Regions from separate parts of the Homo sapiens genome. Here region 1 is linked to region 2. Evidence: promoter capture Hi-C in 16 types of primary human blood cells and fetal thymus (Javierre and others, 2016). All regions are on one chromosome and are shown on one strand. Each heading gives the region's core, a stretch centred on a gene start or on the middle of the fragment in contact. The rest is flanking DNA. Distances are from core to core; before and after follow the strand shown. Region 1 overlaps MAP3K1 (mitogen-activated protein kinase kinase kinase 1). Region 2 holds the start of DHX29 (DExH-box helicase 29).

Region 1 (4,513 bases), core at 698-3,197, 1.5 Mb before region 2:
CATGTTAGGAACACCACATGAACAACACTGCATGAACAACATCTGAAATAAGTATCAATCCTGAGCAAATGCCCTGGGAACTCTACTAAGTGTAAAATCAAAGTGCTTCAAAGCACATATTTTGTTACAGGTCCTTTGGCTGCTTAGAGTATTTTTTCTTACTTCTTAGTGCTAACCCATGTTCTAGATAAGAGAGGCTGCTGGGTTTACTTACCAACAGTAAACTTTGAAATGTTTTGTTACATGGGTTCTTGGCTTCTGCAATCTCATGGAGTACTTGCCTAACAAATATTTTCTTCAATGGAAATGTGAACTTTTATTTATCCCAAGTTGAATTATGATCAAATTAATGAATTTTGGATGAAGTAGGGTTATCAGATAAGAATTCTAAAAATGATATCTTAAGTTTAGATGACATTCTGAGAACTTTAAAAATAAGAATAATTATATTAATGCATGACACCTTTATGTGTATATTTATTCACAGATGTATGTGTGAATATATAAATGCATATATATACACACACGCACTCTTAACTCCCTATTAAGTACAGAATAATTATATACACATAGCAGACTCTTCTTACCTATAAAGTTGTCATGCAGTATAGCTATTTGCTCTCTACTACATTAAGCTGTCCTATTTCACTCGAGCCACCAGGCACGTCTACAAGTCCAGGTACCTCTGAATGAGTCTATCACAAATCTACAGTGTTGAAACACCATAGTCTAGACTTTTGCCATTTAACACCTTTTCAGCTATGTCCTAAACTACGTCTGACTAAACAGGAAAAACAGTGGATCCACTAATTTGAACATGCCATGCCATTATCCCTCTCATTCATTTATTCAATAAATATTTATGCAGTGTCTACCCTATGCCAGGCATCCTGCTAGGTGCTAGGGGGAAGGCAGTCATTCATCAAATGAGGTAACAAATGTAAAAGCACAACACTGACAGTAGGGACACCCTGCTACAAAGCCAGTCTGGGTGGATGAGGGAAAGCTTCCCTGAGGAAGTGTCAATGAGTTAAGATTTTAACAACGAGGAGCTGACTTTATGGAAAAACAGTGTTCCTGGCAGAGGGAGCATGTGAGGGCCCTATAGAAGAAGGCAGTGAGTGAGTCTGAGGAAATGAAAGCACGCAACCCTGCCACGGAACAAGGGCAAGTGTGAGCTGAGATGGGCCTGGAGAAGCAGACAGGGGCCCAACCGGGCAGGGACTCGGTCAGGCATGTTAAAGATTTCCTGGTCTTTATCCAAATGGAAGCCATCTGAACATCTTAAAATTAAATTACATTTACTTTTCTGGAGGGAGGAAGTTATGATCAGATTTACATTTGGAAATGATCACTCTGGCCACCTAATACAGATTGGAACGGACAGCAAAGGAGAAAGGACACAGGGATCAGGCAAGGAGGCCACTAAGTTAGTGGAAATGAGAGACAATGGGCACCTGGCTAGGGGTGTGATAACAGGTCAAACTGCCAGCACCTAAGGATGGTCTGAATCTGACGAGGTGAGAGGAGGAGGTGTCAAGGGTGACTCCTGGGTTCTGGTTCTGCCATTTAATGAGCAGGGAACATGTTAGGAGAAGGTTTAGGGAAGATCTTTAATTTGGTTTTAGACATCTGACTGCGCAGAAGTCATGTAGCCAGGTGTAGGTCTGGACTTTAGGAGAGATCATGGTTAGGACAATAAACTCTGCAATCATTTGTAAATGGTCCATAACTGATCTAAGGGCATTAATAAGACTGGGGTGGGGATCGACAAGACAGAATGAGAGAAGGCCTAGGACCACCCTGGGAATCTTCCAGTATCAATGTTCAAGAGAATGAAGATGGGCGCCACGGAAGAAGTGTCATGGTTAAGTAGAAAATCAGGAGGGGCTTACCAATTAACGCAAATAATTAGACACTTTCAAATACCAGGAATTCAGTTTTCTCAATATTTGACAGTTTGAGCATGGCTCCAATTATTTTGTAACTACACTAATTATTAGAAGGCTCACATTACATAAAATTGGTCAATATTATCAATGACTGCTTGCTAAATGCCAACTACTGCTATTAAACATCAAGCAATGGTCTGGCCGCAGTGGCTCATTTCTGTAATCCCAGCACTTTGGGAGGCCAAGGTGGGTGGATCACTTGAGGTCAGGAGTTCAAGACCAGCCTGGCCAACATGGTGAAACCCTGTCTCTACAAAAAAATACAAAAATTAACTGGGCATAGTGGGGCATGCCTGTAATCCCAGCAAGCTACTCGGGAGGCTAGGCAGGAGAATTGCTTGAACCTAGGAGGCAGAGGCTGCAGTGAGCAAAGATTGCGCCACTGCACTCCAGCCTGGGCAACAGAGCAAGACTCCGTCTCAAAAATAAATAAATAAATACCAAACGATATACAAAAACTCCTAAAAAAAGACAGTTCTTGCCTTCAAAACTCGTCTTAAGCTAGATCATGATTAAAATCTCACTACAGTAAGTTAATCTTCAGATATACTAATTTAACCACTTTTGGAAAATTAATTCATGTTAACATTTCTGGGTACCTAATATTCATGGGTGCCAGACACTAGTCTAGATGCTGGGAGATGGTGCAAAGAATCAGATAAAGTTCCTGGTCTGTTAACAACTGATGTTTAGTATTCAGAATACCATAAGACCAGTTTGAAGATTATGTGTTAACATATAACTTAAATTATTGTTTAGGCAATGAAGAAAAGTAAAGCCAGACACAGTGGCTTGCACCCATAGTTCCAGCTATGTGGAAAGATCACCTGAGCCCAGGAGTTCGATTCCAGCCTGGGCAACATAGTGAGAACCCATTTCTAATTTAAAAATAAAAAAAGAAAAGTAATGATAACATCTGTCAAGAGCAAAGCTTCCACCTACACCCCAGTACTGACCCTGTTCTCACTCCATGTCTATCCATCATTATGCTTACAAGTGATGAACTTAGTTAACGTACTAACTACAGTACTGTGTAGGCTGTCCCATGTGGCTCCAAGCACTTTCTCCAGGCTTCAAGAGGTCTGGTGGCTTAGTAATTCCCAGGTGACAGATGTGTACTTGCAGAATTATACACTTGGTGAGTTTTAACAATTCCCCTTAGTATGCTACAACATCTCCACATCTCGATCAAATTAACATCTGCATCAAACCAGCCTGGTATTCCAAAGGACTCAATCACTAACAATACAGAACTCCCTTCCATACCAAACATAACTCAATCACCAATGACATGCCATAGAGTAAATAAAGACAAGGCTATCTTCTTGATCATCTTATGCCCTAAAGAATATTTTATATTTCTCCATGTTGTTTTCGTAACTAGTAGAGTTGCTGTTACTAATAATAAAGACAGAATTTCAGAACTAGCAGTAGCAGATGTTGAATTTCTTGCTCCCCGTATCTCCTTTTTAATTTTCCCTTGGAAGAAAAAAAAACATGCCTGAACATGCAGTGTTGTATATATTCTTATCAGAAAATAGGCAGAAATAGTTTGAAACTAATATGTTGTATCCCCTCTGTATCCCCATCTCTCTTATAGCACTTAACACGGTATTGTGAAACATGTTCATACTACAACCTACCGACAGAAACAGCTTGTGCACTCATGATCTTTTTCTCCACCACTCAAGACCACCACCTTGCAGAAGTTCATAAATGTTGAATGGATGAAATCTAAAACAATAACAAAGGGGTAGGGTCTAGCAATAGTAAAAGTTTCTCTTCCTGTGTGATTACCATGAATGAACCATATTAATTTCAGCTTATCTCCTTTCACTTATGATTTAATACAGCACAAATCAATAAATCTAAGAAACATTCAACACTAATGACTAACCCTCTTTGGCTGACATGATAGGGTGATCCAAATACAGTTTACTTGTATTACATATACAAGGCCAGGTTACAGAAACATACCTATTATATACATTAACAGGCAAACTTAGCACAGGGTAGAGACCTAGCTCATGGTCTATTAGAATGCCTGCAAAACAAATTTCTCCTTAAAAATAATCAATTAATTTGATTATTAATTTGAAAAAAGAAAATGGAAGAAGCAGAGTAGTGGAAAGAAATGGACTGTGGAGTCAGTCTGACTTGGGATTGAATCCTAGCTGTCTTCTAGTTGTGTAATCATGAGGTTTTACCATCTCAGATGAGTTTGCACCTACAGAAAACAGAAATTACACTATCTTAGGGGGCTGCAGTGATGATCAAATGAGATTATATATAAACATATATATAATACATATAATAGATATCATACACACACACAGAAGGCAAAAGAGTTGATTATGTAAAAGGTATCTAGGCATATCTATATGCTCAATGAGTATGTTTTAAGCCACAGATAAAATCCTAATATATTTTTGCAAACTGAAAAGAGTATCTGACTAATCTCATGCTTTGCAATGAACCATTTACTAATTCCGGCCCTGATTATTTCTTTCATGATTAAACATGTTCTTAAATAATTTCTTAAAGACAACTTTGGGTTACTC
Region 2 (5,020 bases), core at 955-3,454:
ACTTTGTTCCACTCATTTCGCACTCCTGATAGAATTTTCTCTTATCCCTCTAATCTCTTATTTAGGCTTATGTACCCTCTCCAGAAGTTCTGTGTTGTGTCACTTACTTCCCCACAGAGATCTCTATCTCAAGGAGACCAATTCAAATGATATTCAAATATATACCTCCAGTCCTGGTCTCTCTCCAAAACCCTATTAAAACTACCCAGTGGACATTTTCCTACAGACATACTAGCATCCCTTCACATTGTCTCAAGCCAAATTAATGTTATCACTATATCAAAACCTCTGAACGTCCCTGTTTTTTTCACCCTGACATGCAAATTAAACATCTCTTTTGACTTCCTTTCCCTTGTTTTCCTTAATTAATGAAGGCCTGTCCATTTTTTCCTTAACATGTTCGTACCTTTCCATTCCTCTGCCACTGCCTGAGTTGAGGTTCTTTTCATCTTTACAACCAGATAACTAACATAATTTCCTAATTTACTTTCTCACTGTCTATCTTCTTTCCCTATACTATTATAGTACTCTGCCAACCACTGCCAAATTAATTTTCCTAAACTATCATTCTACTTATCCAATCACCTTGTTCAACAGGGTTTTAAAAATGAAATCAAAACTCCTCTGCTTGATATTCAAGGCCCCTCATGTTCTCAAATCAATGTATATTCCCAGTCTTATCTCTTGTAGTCCCTAAATGAAACAGTTCCTCTTGCTCAATTTATGCTCCTAAAAACAAACAAACTTGGCACCATTAACAACACAATTTCCTTAACTCAGAATATTCTCTTGTATATAAATAAGCCTTCCTGAAAGTCAGAAATAGGATCTCCCTTTCTTGAACTTTTATAACACTTAATTGTATATATCATTCATTTTAAGTTAACGACCTCCTCACCTATACTGTAACTCTTTAATGGGTACCTGTTCTCTTTCCCTACACCGAAAATTCCTTGAGAGCAAAATCATGTCTAATTTAATTTCAAGCATCTATTGGGTATCTGGCCCCACAATGCCAAGAGTATATTTTGTTGATTGTTAATTAATCATCTTACTTTATTTAATACAAGTAATAGCTTTTCCTTGTTCTACTATAAACAGATCTGTACACTTTCTGGTGGCTGTATGCACCAGTCTAAACATATGGGTAGGGTCCAGTAATTTTTAAATTTTTTCTCAATAAACTCACGATAGCTACCATTTATTAGTGATAGCTAGCTAACCACTGTTAGGCACTTTACACGTGTATCTCATTGAATCCTCATATCCACCAGTGGTAGGCACTATTATCTCCATTTTACGGAAGAGAAAACTACTACATCTTGGAGATTAAATGTCTCTCCCTTCTCATGTTATTATCTGCCCTTTCCCCTCCAAATCAATTCATATCATTTTTTCTAAACCTTTTCACCTTTTACTCAACTAATCATTCGTTTTGTTTATTAACGACTATGTGCCAGGTGTTGTGCTGATGCAGGAGACAACCGCGAAGATGGGGACAGAATCAGTAACATCGACGTAAGGGAATTGAAGCAGAAGATCACGCTGCCTGCAGACACCAGGAAACGCCAAGACCCCCCTTCCACGAACCAACATTCTTCCACCCTCTCCAACTTTTTTCTGGAACCCCTTCACTTCCAACGCCACTCAATGTACACTTCACTTTCTCGTGCTCTTCCTAAGAGAGTAGTGTTTTCTTCCTCCCCACCGAGAAAAAAAATAAAAGCAACAACTGGAACTTCTTCCTTACCCTGCCTTGTCTGCAGACCCTGGAGGCCCCTTCCATTTCCCCTTGTCCTTTTCCTTGTCTTTTTTGGTTCCCGCCGCAGTGGTCGAGTCGCCCTCGAACACGCTGAACAGCTCATCTCCGAATGCGTCCGCCATTTTTGGGAGCAGTGAGAGCAAATCTCCCTCCTACCCACGATGCCCCGCGACCGAAGACAGTGACGTCTCGTGAAGGCTCAACAGTGGCCCGCAGGAGACAAAAGTAGTCGAGTCGCGCAGCCGACAAAAATGTTCCCCTGACTTTTTTTTTTTTTCCTGCTTTTCTTTCCTTTCCTTTCCGACCTAAAGTGGATAAGCTGCTCAGTGGATAAAGAGCGAGGGCGGCGCGTGGCGCCTGGCGTGTGGCAGGCAGCTGGCGACTCAAGGAGGCGGAGCCTGCTGAATTCGACCAATTGCGAGGCAGCGGTCGCCCCGGCCCGAGAAGCCCGGATCGAAGCGCAGGGTGGCAGCCCCGGAGCCGGGGAATGTGAAGAGCTCTCGGCTGTGCAGTGGTACCGTCGGGGCCTGGGCCGCGAAGGATCTTCTGCCACAGCTGCAACATGGGCGGCAAGAACAAGAAACACAAGGCTCCAGCGGCCGCGGTGGTCCGGGCCGCCGTGTCTGCTTCCAGAGCCAAATCTGCCGAGGCTGGAATTGCCGGGGAGGCCCAAAGCAAGAAGCCAGTGTCCAGGCCGGCCACCGCTGCCGCTGCCGCTGCCGGCTCCAGGGAGCCCCGTGTCAAGCAAGGTACGAGAGGTCCCCCAGCCCCTGGCTGTCTGCCCTGAGACCTTGCTGCTTGTCCTGAGGAAAGGGCCTTAGAACCCGGGAGGAGCTTCGGGCCCAACATTTCTATTTCCCAACACTCGAGCTGCTACCTCCCCATGGGGTGGCCTTGTTTTAGATTAAAAAAGTCTAAGCTCTTTGGGCCTCCAAAATTCTGACAGTAGCCCTGTTGCAGCCTGGCATTTCTCTTTTAACTCACACTTCTCCCCCTTCTAAAAACAAAATAATTGCATTAGCTCCTGTTTCAGCAGGAATTCATCCTGAGCACCATCTCAGCTAGCTAGGCTAACGCAAAGACGAGTACTGAGTGGAGTTCCTGACCTCCTGGTGCCAGCCAGCCCCATTTTCTGTCAGTTTTTCATATCATTTTCAGCAACAATCTAGTGTCTCCATGCGTTCTGGAAAAATCAATACTTAATAAAAATTACAGGACTTACACACTGGTTACACACTGGTTACGTGTAATCTATTGTAAAATTGTCTGCCCTCGTTTCTGCCGCCATGCAGTTTTGCTTACTGTACAAATTGATTTGACAACTCAACTTATAGATGGCCGATTCCTGCTGCAGATGAGCAGGCCACATATTACGGTTGAGCTCAAAAGATGAACAATTACATTCTGTTGTGTTCTTCTCGGGTTGTTTGCTTGTACTTATTGGAGTATTCAAGAAATATTTGCTGAGCATTTATGTGTATATATGCAAATATTTAGTATGTGTCTGATAAGATGTGAGGAATGTGATGAGCAAAAAGAGACATCACCTCATGGAGCTTGCCAGTCTAATGTCAGAGATAGGTATTAACTAATAGGTAACGCACACAGACATATTTATAGCCTTATAATAGATAAGTGCCACAAAGAAAAGCCAGGGAAGACAGTTTAACAGGGTAATCTAATTTTTCTCGGGATGAGCAGGTATCATGGATGGTGTCTGGAAATGTAACAGTTAAGCTGAGATGAGGAGAATGAAAAAGGAGTTAACTCTGTGAAGCATGGCAGAAATTAGTATTCCAGGCGGGCGTAATGAACATCATGTGTAAAAAGTTTGAGTCAGGAAAGAGCTTGGGGCTCTTGAGGAATTCACAGAACATAAAGCATCGCCAAAGGATGAAATGAGATGAGACTGAAAAAGTAGGCAGGTACCAGACCTTTACCTAGAAGGTGGAAACAGTTCTTTGCCCTGCGATTTATTGTAGTGTTAGCTACAGAGTTAGCATACTTGTAATTACAAATACATAGAATTTCTCCCTGACAACTATGGCAGTTTTATTCTGTGGATCAGCCTCTTTTTTACTTTTCCTTTGTCTTTTACTGACATTCCTCTGAATTTGAACCGATAGTCATTTGTTGTATTCTTTGAATTCCCTTTCCTCCAGCCCCAAACTGTGACCCTTTCTCAAGGTGTCAATCCTTGACAGTATAGTTCACTCCTAAAGCCCTTCTAGGAGTGTTCATCTATTTCCATTACTTCTATCTTTTCCTTTGTAGATGGCCTCTCTTCCAAGCTCAAGTTGGCAATTTATACATTTTGCTGGATTCTCTGACCCTATTTTTTGCAAGCATCTCAAATTTAACAGGGCTAGTACTAAACCACTCTTCTTTCCCCAAACTAACTTTTTCTTCGACTTCCTTGTTTCTGTTTTTCCATATTTCACTTTGCATTTGTGTAGTTCACATCCTAGTCTTGGTACCTGTGAATTCCTGGAGTAGCAACGAAGTCTTTTAATAGGGCTCCACAGCTGTGCTCATTTTGCTTCCTCCAGTTGGTCTTGCATATCAACATCAGACTGATCTTCCAGAAATGCTGCTTTGGTCGTAACACTTCCTATTTTCTTCCATGGCATCCTCACTGACTTTGCAATAAAATCCAAATCATTTAGCTAGCTTCTAAAACCCTCTTTCTAACCTTTTAATAATTCCTCTATTCAACTATAGCAAGTCTGGTGTGTTTTCATTTCTCCAAATGGAGCTCTTAGCTTTCTCCTTCCTCGTATTTATTCTTGCCATGTTTTTCTTCATGGAGTGCAATCTGTCCCTAACATCATCTACCAAAACCTTAAAATACCCATTTCAGATAACAACTTCCTTTTGAATTCTTCCTGCTATTCACAACTGACGTATCATAGTTGTTTAAATCATTCTTTTTGATAGTTAGTTCTTGCCTTATGATATGTAAAGAATTATATGTTTTATATATCCAACAAAATTACAGGAGGTAGGAACAGTTTTATGGATATGTGTTAACATTTCCCCAGTATCTACTCTAGTGCTGTGCATATTGTCATGAAGAAAATTACTTGGATAACTGGTAAGGAAAGTTCAAAGGAATTATTAAGACCAAGAAATCAAGAGAAAAAAACTAGAGGTTATCTACTAAATTTGCACATAACTTTTGGGTTTATTTTAGGGTGCTTTTAATATATAGTATAACGTACAATAAACCTATTTTGGAGAAAAAAGTGGAAAAATGCT

Evidence for each region. Contacts are between HindIII fragments. The CHiCAGO score rates a contact against its expected background, and 5 or more counts as called.
Region 1: a contact is called between a fragment that was not itself captured here and the fragment with the promoter of DHX29 in region 2, in 1 of 17 cell types (fetal thymus). The highest score is 9.9, in fetal thymus.

What each region holds. Positions count from the first base shown.
Region 1 is chr5:56,819,899-56,824,411 of GRCh38, reverse strand. All of the region lies in intron 1 of MAP3K1 (mitogen-activated protein kinase kinase kinase 1), which reads right to left. Among named protein-coding and RNA genes, the nearest start is that of MAP3K1, 6.6 kb to the right of the region's middle. RefSeq lists a silencer at 3,676-3,970. The HindIII fragment of the contact is 1,877 bases long and covers 1,009-2,885 here.
Region 2 is chr5:55,304,878-55,309,897 of GRCh38, reverse strand. It overlaps DHX29 (DExH-box helicase 29), which reads left to right and starts at 2,204. Exons shown (of 27, transcript NM_019030.4): 1 at 2,204-2,511. The coding sequence starts at 2,325. It overlaps MTREX (Mtr4 exosome RNA helicase), which reads right to left and starts at 1,909. Exons shown (of 27, transcript NM_015360.5): 1 at 1,751-1,909. The coding sequence starts at 1,884. LOC124900979 (a long non-coding RNA gene) reads left to right here. Exons shown (of 2, transcript XR_007058774.1): 2 at 1,461-1,749. RefSeq lists enhancers at 1,656-2,135, 2,276-2,535. The HindIII fragment of the contact is 7,705 bases long and covers 1-5,020 here.